2 separate regions of the Homo sapiens genome follow, and region 2 is linked to region 1. Evidence: promoter capture Hi-C in human tissues and cell types (Jung and others, 2019). All regions are on one chromosome and are shown on one strand. The core of a region is centred on a gene start or on the middle of the fragment in contact, and the rest is flanking DNA. Distances in the headings are between cores, read along the strand shown. Region 1 holds the start of BCAR1 (BCAR1 scaffold protein, Cas family member). Region 2 overlaps CHST6 (carbohydrate sulfotransferase 6).

Evidence for each region. The method cuts DNA at HindIII sites, captures the fragments that hold promoters and counts their contacts. A contact is called where the count stands out against the background at its distance.
Region 2: a fragment that was not itself captured here is called in contact with the fragment with the promoter of BCAR1 in region 1 in 2 of the 25 tissues and cell types used here (lymphoblastoid cells and pancreas).

The regions. Positions count from the first base shown.
Region 1 is chr16:75,249,241-75,255,402 of GRCh38, reverse strand. It overlaps BCAR1 (BCAR1 scaffold protein, Cas family member), which reads left to right and starts at 3,779. Exons shown (of 7, transcript NM_014567.5): 1 at 3,779-3,932. The coding sequence starts at 3,921. RefSeq lists enhancers at 1-325, 865-1,405, 1,406-1,945, 1,946-2,486, 3,027-3,567 and silencers at 3,567-3,676, 3,737-3,896. The HindIII fragment of the contact is 33,708 bases long and covers 1-6,162 here.
Region 2 is chr16:75,469,061-75,474,887 of GRCh38, reverse strand. It overlaps CHST6 (carbohydrate sulfotransferase 6), which reads left to right. Exons shown (of 3, transcript NM_021615.5): 3 at 1-2,836. Among named protein-coding and RNA genes, the nearest start is that of TMEM170A, 7.3 kb to the right of the region's middle. RefSeq lists an enhancer at 2,597-3,239. The HindIII fragment of the contact is 5,677 bases long and covers 828-5,827 here.

The DNA.
Region 1 (6,162 bases), core at 2,530-5,029:
GGGATGGTGTCAGCTCTCATTGGCCCTCCAGAGATACCGTTTCTTCCTGTTCCTGGGGCTGGCAGTGCTCACCTCCGGCCTCAGGAAATCCTCTCCTGCTGCCGCTCCCAGAGCTGGCCATCAACCGAGTCCACCCTCCCTGCTGCTGGGAGGCCGAGGCTTCAGGAGGGGAGGGGGCTGTGTGCCTTTACACTGTGCAAACTGGTTTTAGCCTGCTCTTTTCACTTTAGTTTGTTGTAAGCATTTTCTTGCATTATTTCAGTCTTTGGAAGAGGCCATCTAATAGCTGCAAGCTATTCTACTGAGGCGCTGTGGTTTGTCTCACCGGTCCCCTAGAATTAGCATTGATAGGTGAGCCTGTTTTGCTCCATGCTTTGCTGTCATAAATGCTGCAGTGGACATTGGTGAGCATTGAGCAAGAAAAGTTCTGTGCAGTGGGTCTGTCCTGAAGGCAGATCTCAGAAAGCCCAAAGAGCAGGAACCCTATCCCAGGCTTATCTTTCCACTTGGGTCCAGTATAACCCCCTCCACTCCAGACACTTAGTGTCCTGGTGTGCTGGGTCCACCTGTTTTCTGTACAAACAGCTATTCCAGGCCCTGAGGGGTTGGAGACATCCCTTCCAGCCTGTGAGCTCATCTTCAACCTGGCTGGAGGTGCCAGGCCACTCCTGGGATGACACAACTGTCTGGGAGGGCCCTGTGCTGGTGCCCCGGCCACATATCTGCAGCTGTCTCCCTTGGTCTGGCAACAACCTCTCCCAGCTCCTCCTTATTCAGGGCGTCTCTCCTTGCTGCCAGTCCCACTGTGTGTATACGCATGCGTGTGTGCTGTGTGTATGCAAGTGTGTGCCTCTGCACTTAGGCGTGACTTAACCACCCCCATCCTCCAGACTGGGGCAGCCTCAGATTTCTTCACCCAGGCCAGCCTATCCCATGAGGGCCACCTCTGAGGTCCCACCCAGTCAACAAATGTTTACTGCACCCCTTCTCACCAATGGGGCTAAACTTAGTGGGGTGGGGGTGGTGCTGGCCCCAGTGCTGAGCTCAGTTTTACTGGGGAGGAAGGTGCTTAGGTCTCAGTTGCCTGTCCTTTTGCAGTCTGAGTGTGACAGGGGTGTTTGGCTTTCTGAGCCTGGAGTGCTGCTGTCCCTGTCCCTAGATTCCCTTCCTGCTGCAGGGTGGGCTGAGGTCTAGCAGCCCCATTTCTTCCCTGGCCCTGTCCCTTCTGTGCCCCGAAATGTGTGGGATGGGGCAGTGGTTGGTAAACTGGGTCTCGGTCTCTTCATGTGAAAAATGGGGCTAGGCTGGGTGCAGTGGCTCACGCCTATAATCCCAGCACTTTGGGAGGCTGAGGTGGGTGAATCACTTGAGGTCAGGAGTTCGAGACCAGCCTGACCAATATGGTGAAACCCCATCTCAAAAAAAAAAAAAATTGGGGCTAACGGTGAGCCTGTTTTGCAGGATTGCTGTGTGCACAAAATAAATGCATGGGCATAGGGCCCCTGGCACTGGCTGGGCGCAGAGGCTGTGCTGGGTATGTGGGGCTGCATCCCTGTCCTTGACAGCGGAGGTCCGGGAGGCTGGACTGGGGGTGGGGTGAGGTTCTGCCCCCATATACCCCGGCCAGAGCCTGGCCAGTGGGTGCTCCTCCCCCACCCCCCAGCTACATCCCCATCAACACTGTGGGGCTTAACTTCTGGGGCCTTGTTTCCAAAGCGGAAATGCCATTCTGGGAGGCACAGGCTTTTGGGGGAGGGAATTTAAGTGGAAAAGGAGCAAATTTTTGAAATGCCTGTGTCGGAGCCTGTTTCCCTTGCTGCCTCCTGCTCACACCAGCAGCCCCACCCCCAGTGCTGTTCTAATGCAGCTACTGGGGGAGGAGGGTCTCATCCCCCAAGGTTCCAGCCATCCACCTCCTCTCTGCACCGCCCTCCTTGGCCAACTAGGATGGAGCAGGGGCCAGCTCCCTTGAGGGCCAGGCCTTTTGTGTCCTTGCCCGTCCCTGCAGAGACTGCTGCCTGGGGCCCTGCCAGCAGGGCACTGCCTGCCCATGAGGCCTGGTCTCCCCTCCCCACAGAAGTGGAGGCCCAGGGATGACCTCAGGCTCCTGAGGGTCCCGCTGGTTCAGACCTGCTCTCTGGGAAGCTGGTGTGCCAGCCAGGCTGAGGAGTGGGTGGCTGGACAGGGTCAGGGTGCAGGAGGGGCCCGGCACAGCTCTTGGGAACAAGCAGGAGGAGATGCTCCAGGCAGCTTCCCTGAAGGCTGGCTCCTCTTCTGAGGCGAGGCGGGCTGTGTCGGGGAGGCACAGGGTGTTGGCTAGCTGTTCTGTTCCTCCTGAGGACTCTGGGTCATGCTCTGTCTCATCCCACTGCTCCTTCCTCACCCGCTGTGCTGTGAGTTCTGGCCAATGCTTCCCAAGCCAAATATTGAAGAAATGCAGACGTCCAGTTTTTTGGGAGGGGTGGGACACAGGAGTCTGTTTTTTAACTAGCTCCCCAGAGCACCTGAGCAGCAAATCATGGGCTGTCCTAGCCCCTTTTCAGATGAGAAAGGAGCCCAGAGAGGGGAGAGGGCCTGCCAAGGTGGCACATCTGGCCAGGCGCTGCGTAGGCTGAGCCCTGGGGGTCAGACAGAGGGGCAGCTGCAGGCCCACCTGGGCTTGTGTCTTCCATAGGCCATGCTTGAGAATTCTCTGCTGCGTGAAGCCGGGTCTACCCCGCTGCTTCCCTGCCACCAGGGCTGCCTCGTGGCATCCCATTGCTCAGCCAGTGGCCCAGGATTGTTGACTGAGGGTCCTGTCTGGTCTGGACCAGGCTCGGTCCTATCATCTCCCTGCAGATTGTGCCTCCCTGGCCTGGCCCAGGGGCTCTGGCACCCTGGTTCTGCTGCATGGGGTGACAGTCACTGACCTGCAACCGAGCAAGGGGCAACTCAGGAGAGCCAAGGTTGTCTCCACTCGGTTTCCCCCGAGTGATTCTTCCTTCTATCTCCCTCATTCCCCCAGTGCCGCTCTCCTACCCCATGTCGCTGAAGCAGATGAGTTGGAGCAGGACTCAGGAGGGTACTAGGCCCAGGTTTTAGGCTGAACCTAGGAATGAGTAATGAGAGGAGGCAGATCAGCTGGAGGACCAGCCCGAGTCCCCAGATGTCGGCACAATGCAGGGGAAGGTAGGTGCTGCCCGTGAAAAGCGCTGGGTCGAGAGCTCGCCAGCCTCCCTGCTTGAGGCTTCATTTCCTGGGGTCCTTACACGGTGGGACCGTCTACAGTCGGAGCTGTGGTGGTGATGATTCGTCTCCTACAGGCTGGGGCACGCCCCCTCCCCTTTCCCTCTAGATTCAGATTTGAGTCCCACGGCCCATGGACACGCGATGAATGCCCTGGGGTTGGTTAGCGGGAAAGACAAGTCGACTTGAGGCCATGTCTCGGCTCTGGAGGAAGAAGGCAAACCGGGCAGCCTTCCCAGAAGTGGAGGAGTTTGCGTAGGCCTTCGGTGCGTTCTCGCCTGGGTGGAAGGCGGGGACGTGCATTTGTTGGAGAGCGGTGTCCTGCGCCCTAGGCTGGAAGCCTGGCCTCGGGCAGGGGCCTGGAGCCTCGGGGTTGGAGGTGGGGGGCGGGGCGGGGGGCGGCCCCTACTGGGCGGGCTTCTGTCTGCGCGCCCGCGCCCCCGACAGGCGGCTTATTTGCATGGAGAGCGGCGGCGGCCAATGGGCGCGCGCGGCCGGGCATGCTGGGATCGGGCTGGGCCGGCTGGGCCGTGGCGGCAGGCGGAGAGCGGCTGGACCGGCTCTGGGTGGCCGAGGCGGCAGCTGCGCGGCGGCACCGGGGCGGCTGCGGCGCGCTCGGAGCCCCGAGGGCACGCGGCCCGGGCAGCTCGGTGTGCGCCCCCGCGAGAGCCGGGGCCCCAGGCCCGCCGGACACCATGAACCACCTGGTGAGGGCGCCAGGTGGGGCCGGGCCGCGTACGGGCTTGGAGGCGGCAGCGGGCTGGAAGGGGTTAAGCGAGCGGCATTTCCTGCCGGACCTGCGGGGCCTGGGAACCGCCGGCCGGGGTCCGCGGCCCTGGGATCTCCTTCTGCCCTGGCCGGGAAGCCGGGAGGCAGGAACCGCGGGGGCTCCGGAGCCTGTGCGCCTCGGGTGCGTTGGCGGGGCCGGGCGCGGGGGCCGCCAGCCGGTAGGAGGGTTCCTGTGTCGGGAAAGTGGCTGGCGGGGCCCGCGCTCCCCGGCCGACGGCCGCCTGCTGTGTCACCTTGGGCCTCTGCGCCCTGCCTCCGAGCCTCAGTTTCCTCGGCTGCGAGGAGGGGCCGTTGAGCCTCTGGCGGGTGGTCCGGCTGGTGTGGCGTGGGGACTGCCCACCGGCTCCCGGAGAGGGAGGAGCTCCGGGGGACCGAGGCCGGGCGGGCAAGTGCGTGGCGCCAGCGGGGAAGGCTGCGCAGCCGGAGCACCCGGCTCCAGTTAATGATTCACTCCGGCCGCCGGCGCGGGGTTCCGGGAGCGGAGCGGGAGTGGGGGCGGGCGCGCCGCGGGCTTTGCAGCCCCGCACGCCGAGCGCCGGTGGAAGCCGGGTCCTGGCCACAGGAGTCCTAGCCGCACGCGAGTGTCGCGGGAGGGGGCCAGGGCCGGGTTCTGCAGTGTGGACATGAAGGCTTTGGAGTCCATGGTTGGGGGACCCGCAAGAGCTAGAGCAGGGTCGGAGCTCCCTCTCGAGGGTCCGAGAGGCTGATCGCTGGACCGAGGTGAGGGAGTTGGGAAAGCGGAGATTTGCCTAGGGGTGCGGGGTGAGGGGCTTACGGCCTGGAAGATGTTGGGGTTTCGAGTTCCAGATCGGGGACAGCAGCTCCTTTTCTACCACAAGGCTCCCGTTCCCTCCTGAGAGTCCCTGGTTTCCTTTCCCACACCCCTCCCGGGGCCCGCCGCAGCTTTGGTCACCTTCTCAGAATGACCATGGGTTGATCTCTTCTTTGCTAGTGAGATGTTTCCCATCGCCCTGGGCCGGGACACGCCCCCTCTTGTGCCCATTCCTTTCCCTCGGTGGAGAGTTGGGTGGTGGGGGCTGGCCGGCCTGTGAGAGCAGGTGTCGGGGTGCCTGGAGAATCGGGGCCCAGGTACGGGGGTGGCGGGGCTGTGGGGAAAAGAGCTTTGGGGAGGAGCTGCTGACACTTCCTCCTGGCACTGCTTGCCCGGGAGCTGGGTGGAGGCAGGGCAGGGCAGGGCAGTCCCAGGTTCTGCCAGGAAAGTCACCTTGGGCTGGGGCAGGAGGCTTGGAGCTTCTGGCCGTTACTGTTTGTCTGAGCAGGAGGGTGAGCACTGTGTACTGGTACCATGGCCCCAGGTCTAGGCGAGGGATGGAAATAAGGACAGTGCCACTAGGGCCTCCTGTCTGTACAGGAGGGGCCCTGAGACAGCTCCTCAAACCCCTTTCCCATTATACGGATGGTGCAGATGGGGACACTGAGGTACAGAGAGACAGTCAGTTGTCCTCAGAATTGGATCCAGAACCTCGTCTTCTGGCATGGCCCCCCAGTGCAGCACCACATGTGGCCTCCGAATTCCCAGTCTGGGATTGGGGGAGCTCTGGTCCTTGGGGGACCACCATGCTCTTTTGGAGTTGTCAACTTGGTAGGAACCCTCTGGTTCCAACGCTGTGCCTTTGCGGCCCTCTCCTGGCATCTGCTGTCCCTTTAGGAGGTCCTACCACCCTTTTCTTCTGAGCCTGGACAACTCCTTCCCTTGCCCCCAGGAGCCCACAGCCGGCTAAACCAACTGGTCAGCTAGAACCAACCAGCAGGGGAGGTGCGCTCCAGGGGGGCTTCTAAGAGGAGGCAGTTTTGGAGTCAGAGGTGAAGTGTGGGGAGTGGGATTGGGTGATAGGGAAGTTTCTCCAGCAAAGACACTGGGCAAGCCTCTTCCTTGGCCCCCAGATAAAGGGCTGCAGGGTGGTCTCCGTGTAAGAGGGTGGGGCTCTGCCCTCTGTCAGGCCCTTCCTGGCCCTCCGAGCACAGGAGAGGCCCTGGCTCCACCTGTGTCTTGCTTCCCTGACTTCCTCCCACCTCTACATTCTAGCCTGGGGCAGAAGTAGGGTGGAGGGGTGGGTCTAGCCTCCTTGATGACACAGTTGGGGTTGGAGGTGGGGGCTACCCCTATTCTGGGCCTGGTGCTGTCCC
Region 2 (5,827 bases), core at 2,417-4,916, 220 kb before region 1:
GGAGGCAGAGATTGCAGTGAGCTGAGATCGCACCACTGTACTCCAGCCTGGGCAACAAAGCGAGAGTCTGTCTTAAAAAAAACCACCATTATTTCAGGAGTGAGTTGGTTATCCTGAGAGTGGTGCCTTTTAAATGAAGGAGTTCATTCTTTGTCTTTCTCTCGCCCTCACTTTGCCCTTCTGCCATATGATGCCTTCCATCATGCTAGGACACAGCAAGAAGGCTCTCGCTAGATGCTGGCTCCTTGATCTTGGGCTTCCCAGCCTCCAGAACTGTAAGCCAATACACTTCTATTTATTATATATGACCCTTGCTGGGTTCAGTGGCTCACGCCTGTAATCCCAATACTTTGCAAGGCTGAGGCAGGAGGATCACTTGAGACCAGGCACTCAAGACCAGCCTGGGCAACATAGTGAGACCCCATCTCTACAAAGTTAAAAAAAAATTAGCAGGGCATGGTGTCGTGCACCTGTAGTCCTAGCTACTTGGGAGGCTGAGTTGGGAGGACTGCTTGACCCTGGGAGGTTGAGGCTACATTGAACCATGATCATGCCAGTGCACTCCAGCCTGAGTGACAGAGCAAGACACCTATCTCTAAATAAATGACCCCATCTGTGGTATTGTTATAGCAAAACAAAACAGATTAAGAGAGACTTTTTAATGAAAAGACAGATTCACAAAGAAAAACAATGTTTTTGTTTCTGTTTTTTTGAGGCAGAGTCTTGCTCTTGTCCCCCAGGCTGGAGTGCAGTGGCGCCATCTTGGCTCACTGCAACCTCCGCCTCCCAGTTTCAAGCGATTCTCCTGCCTCAGCCTCCCGAGTAGCTGGGATTACAGATGTACACCACCACGCCCGGCTAATTTTTTTTGTATTTTTAGTAGAGATGGGGTTTCACCATGTCGATCAGGCTGGGCTGGAACTCCTGACCTCAGGTGATCCACCTGCCTTGGCCTCCCAATGTGCTAGGATTACAGGCATGAGCCACTGTACCTGGCGAAAAACAGTTTGTTAACACAGGCAGCCAACATCACTCAGGATAAGCCTCAATGAAAAGTAACAAAGTGATGGCTTGGAACACTGTCTTACACAGCATTTTTAAAAAATACAATAAATTTGTAGAGATAGGATGACCAAGGACAACAGTTTTAGGCTTCCAAAGGTGGTAAACTATGGGATGGTAAATATCCGAGAGGAAGCTGATGCAACAGGATTTGTCTGCAGCAGCCTCTGGTACCACCTCTGAGTCAAGGGTTGTGTCCAGTGATGGAGAGTTTATATCGTGCCTTTAGGCAGAAAAGGGGAGGGAAACCTGAACTTTTCCTGCACTTTCTGCTTCTTAATTGCCTTCAGCTGAAAATCATTTTTTATGTGAAAAAGGCATAGTCTGAGCTGACGCCTCTGCTTTCCTCCACCTGAAGAGAACCTGCGTGCTGCTCCTTTGCTTCGGACCTCCGCCTCTGCCCGGGAGAAAGCCCAGGCCAGCCTGCTGGACAAGCAGAGACCATGAGAAGGAGAGTTCAGGGGTCCCAAACCAGGCCATCCTAGACCAGCCAGCTCCAGCTGATCCGCACGCAGCCACTTCGGCTACCTTCTACTGGCCAAAGGGAGTCCCAGGGCTCACCCAGATTCAGAGGTGGGGAAACTGAGTCCACCACTTGAGAAGAGTAGCTATAAAGACATATGAGCGAGGCCAGCTGAGCCCAGCACTGCGGCCAAGTCGAAGACTTTAGGAGCAATAAAAGTGCTTATTGTGTTTCAGTCATTTGAGTGTTGTGGTGGTTTGTTACGTAGCATTGCCTAACCGATACACTTGAGAACGGAGGGCTCCTGGCACCTGCAGCTTCCAATTTCCACCAGGGTCCAGGCTCCCTCCCTGCTGGTAGGGCTGTAATTAGTGTCTCCCCTTACCTGTAGGCCCTGTGATGCAGCTAGAAGTGTCTAGGCCCAGCAGTCACCCACAATTAGGGGCAGGCACGCTTGCTGCCTCTGCTCTGGCTGTGGGAGCTCAGAAGGGGCAATCAAAGCACTAGATGGGCTGATGGGTGCATAGAAACAGTGTTGCCTGGAATAGGTCAGAGAACCCACCTATCAAGAGGCTGTTGGGGAATCAATGGTGGGCCTTATTTTTGTTATTTTGCATCAAGAAGATATATTATCCACATCAACACTGTATCAACTCCTCATGGCCACCACAGACCCTGTGTCCCCTAGCTTTGTCTTTGATGTGCCTTTGTCACCCACTCCTACAGACTGCGCCCCACCACTGCCACAACTGCCCCATCACCTCTACAGGGTTAAATCAATGGTTTTAATTTTTGCCTACCTGATGGGTGAAAAATGTTACTTGATGTTTCAGTCTGCACTTCTTTAATTCCTGGGGCAGCTGAACATCTTTTCATGCTTATGACTCAACTGTATTCCTTTTTCATTGTTCAAGGCTGTGCCCATGTTGCTGTTGACTTACCACAGCCTCTTTTGAATATGCTTTGTTATTTTTGTTGTGCAAATGGTTTCTCCTAGCTTGTCATCTGTTTTTTGTTGTTGTTGTTTTGTTAACTTACTTTATGGCATTTTCCCCTCAGGCTTCTTAAAAAAAAAGAAGCTTCATTGAGCTATAATTGATATACAACATCTGCACATAAAGTGTAAAGTTTGATTAAACATTTGTATATACCTGTGAAATCAAATCACCACCTCATCACAATCAAATTTCAAAAAGTTTCACCTAGTTTATCATATTGTTGAATGTGAATCCTTTCCTTATGGCCAGTGGATTTTATGTCTTGTTGAAACGACTTTGTCCTGCTACAGTGATAAAAATGGTCTTCACGCTTGCTTCCAGTACTTTAGTAGTCTAGTGTTTTACGCTTGGATCTAAATTGCATGCAATATTCCTGATCGGTGCGAGTCATCAGTTCTCCCAGCGCCCTCTACTGAATGATCTCACTCATCACACACTGAAACCACCATGGGCTGGAATCTGTCCCTCACCCACAGGCCCACTCCACACCAGTGGATCAGGCGAGCAATTTCTTTAGGTCGAGTGACCCCTATGCTGAGGTCCAGTGGGTTATCCCGACTACCTTCACAAGTTAATGGATTTAGATTTAAGCACCACCTGCCCCCAGCAGATTCTCTTACAATTTAAATATCCTCTCACAGTGCAAATCCTTATTCTGTGAATGACTCTATTCAGACCATGTTCCTTAAGAACCAGAGCTAGGCTGGGTGCAGCTGTAATGCTAGCAATTTGGGAGGCCAAGGTGGGCAGATTGCGTGAGCTCAGGAGTTCGAGACCAGCCTGGGCAACTTGGCGAAACCCTGTCCCTACTAAAAAAAATACAAAAACGTAGCCAAGCGTGGTGGTATGTGCCTGAAATTCCAGCTACTTGGGAGGCTGAGGCATGAGAATTGCTTGAACCCAGGAGGTAGAGGTTGCAGTGAGCCAAGATCGCCCCACTGCACTCCAGCCTGGGTAATAGAGCGAGACTCTGTCTCAAACAAACAAAAAACGAAAGAACCAGAGCTAAAGTCTTGATGAAATGGAAAGGATTGGCCTACTATCCATTTTTCCAAGATGGCAATTCATTCCAGCCAATCGAGCATTTTCTCCTTTGGGAGTAAGACCAGAAAACCTGGCCTGTCCTGCAAGTCTTGTGTTATTCTGCTCCCAGTCCTCAAGAACTCCACTCATTCATTCAACACACATTATGGGTTGAGCACCAACCAGGCACTGGGCTATTATAGGAGCTGGAGATACAGCAGGACCAAAAACAGACAAAAAGCAAAAACCCCTGCCCTAGGCTGGGTGCAGTGGTTCACACCTCTAATCTCAGCCCTTAGTGAGGCCGAGGCAGGTGGATCACCTGAGGTCAGGAGTTCAAGACCAGCCTGACCCATATGGTGAAACCCAGTCTCTACTAAAAATATAAAAATTAGCTGGGCATCGTGGCATGCACCTGTAGTCCCAGCTACTCAGGAGGCTGAGGCAGGAGAATTGCTTGAACCCGGGAGGCGGAGGTTGAATTGAGCCGAGATGGCGCCAAAGGACTCCAACCTGGGCGACAGAGCGAGACTCCATCTCAAAAACAAACAAAACAAAACAAAACAAAACAAAAACCAGCCAGGCGCAGTGGCTCACGCCTGTAATCCCAGCACTTTGGGAGGCCGAGGCAGGCAGATCATGAGGTCAGGAGTTCGAGACCAGCCTGGCCAACATGGTGAAACCCCATCTCTACTAAAAATACAAAAATTAGCCAGGCGTGGTGGTGGTGGTGCACGCTTGTAATCCCAGCTAATCAGGAGGCTGAGGCAGGAGAATCGCTTAAACCTGGGAGGCGGAGGTTGCAGTGAGCTGAGATCGCGCCACTGCACTCCAGCCTGGGCGATAGAGTGTGACTCTCTCAAACAACAACAACAACAACCCTGCCCTTCAGGAACTTGCATTCTGATGGTGGGGAGATAGCTGATGAATAAGCTTAATAAATGGCTACATTATTTAGCATATTAGAAAGTGCCAAGGATTAAAGTAGAGAAGGATCGGGGGATGAGGAATATATGTGTGTAGAGGTGTGAGTTGTAATTTTTAATGGGGTGATCAGGGTAGGTCTCAGTGAGAAAGCGACATTTGAGGAAAGTCTTACAGGAGGTGAGGGAGTATGTTAAGGGCAATCATGGGTAGCCTGTCTGGGAGCAGGAAAGAGCTAACACAAAAGCCCTAAGGAGGGGAGGCATCTGGCTTGTTGAAAGAGCAGCAAGGGGCCAGGGGGTCTGGTGTGCTGGACCGCCTCCTTGGCTTCCTTAGACAGGGCCCAGGAAACCTCCATTTTCTGAGTCCTGCAAGGCTAAATGTCTTTTTTTAACCTGTCAATTCATAAATGAACTAAAGATCGAATTCTAAATTCAAAATAATGTTTCCTAATGTAATACATAATTGATTATGTAACCCTACAATAATTGATTTCTTCCACTTTTTTTTTTTTTTTTTTTTGAGACGGAGTCTCGCTCTGTTGCCCAGGCTGGAGTGCAGTGGCGCGATCTCTGCTCACTGCAAGCTCCACCTCCCGGGTTCACGCCATTCTCCTGCCTCAGCCTCTCCGGTAGCTGGGATTACAGGCGCCCACCACCACGCCCAGCTGATTTTTTTTTTTTTTTTTTTTTTTTGAGACAGAGTCTCATTTTGTTGCCCAGACTGGAGTGCAATGGCACGATCTCGGCTCCTGCAACCTCTGCCTCCCGGGTTCAAGTAATTCTCCTGTCTCAGCCTCCCAAGTAGCTGGGATTACAGGCGCATGCCACCAGGCCCGGCTAATTTTTGTATTTTTAGTAGAGATGGGGTTTCACCATGTTGGTCAGGCTGTTCTGGAACTCCTGACCTCGTGATCTGCCTGCCTCGGCCTCCCAAAGTGCTGGGATTACAGGTGTGACCTACCACACCTGGCCCTTTTTCTTTTTTTTTTTTTTTTTTTGAGACAGAGTCTTGCTCTGTCGCCCAGGTTGGAGTGCAATGGTGCGATCTCGGCTCACCGCAACCTCCACCTCCCAGGTTCAAGCAATTCTCCTGCCTCAGCCTCCTGAGTAGCTGGGATTACAGGCACATGCCACCATGCCCGGCTAATTTTTGTATTTTTAGTAAAGACGGGGTTTCACCATGTTGGTCAGGTTGGTCTCAAACTCCTGACCTCGTGATCCACCCGCCGCAGCCTCCCAAAGTGCTGGGATTACAGGCATGAGCCACCACGCCCAGCGGTTTCTTCCACTTCTAATAGACTCTGCTAGTCTGGGAAATGTACCAAAAAGACAGCATGGTTAAAAGGTCAGTATTT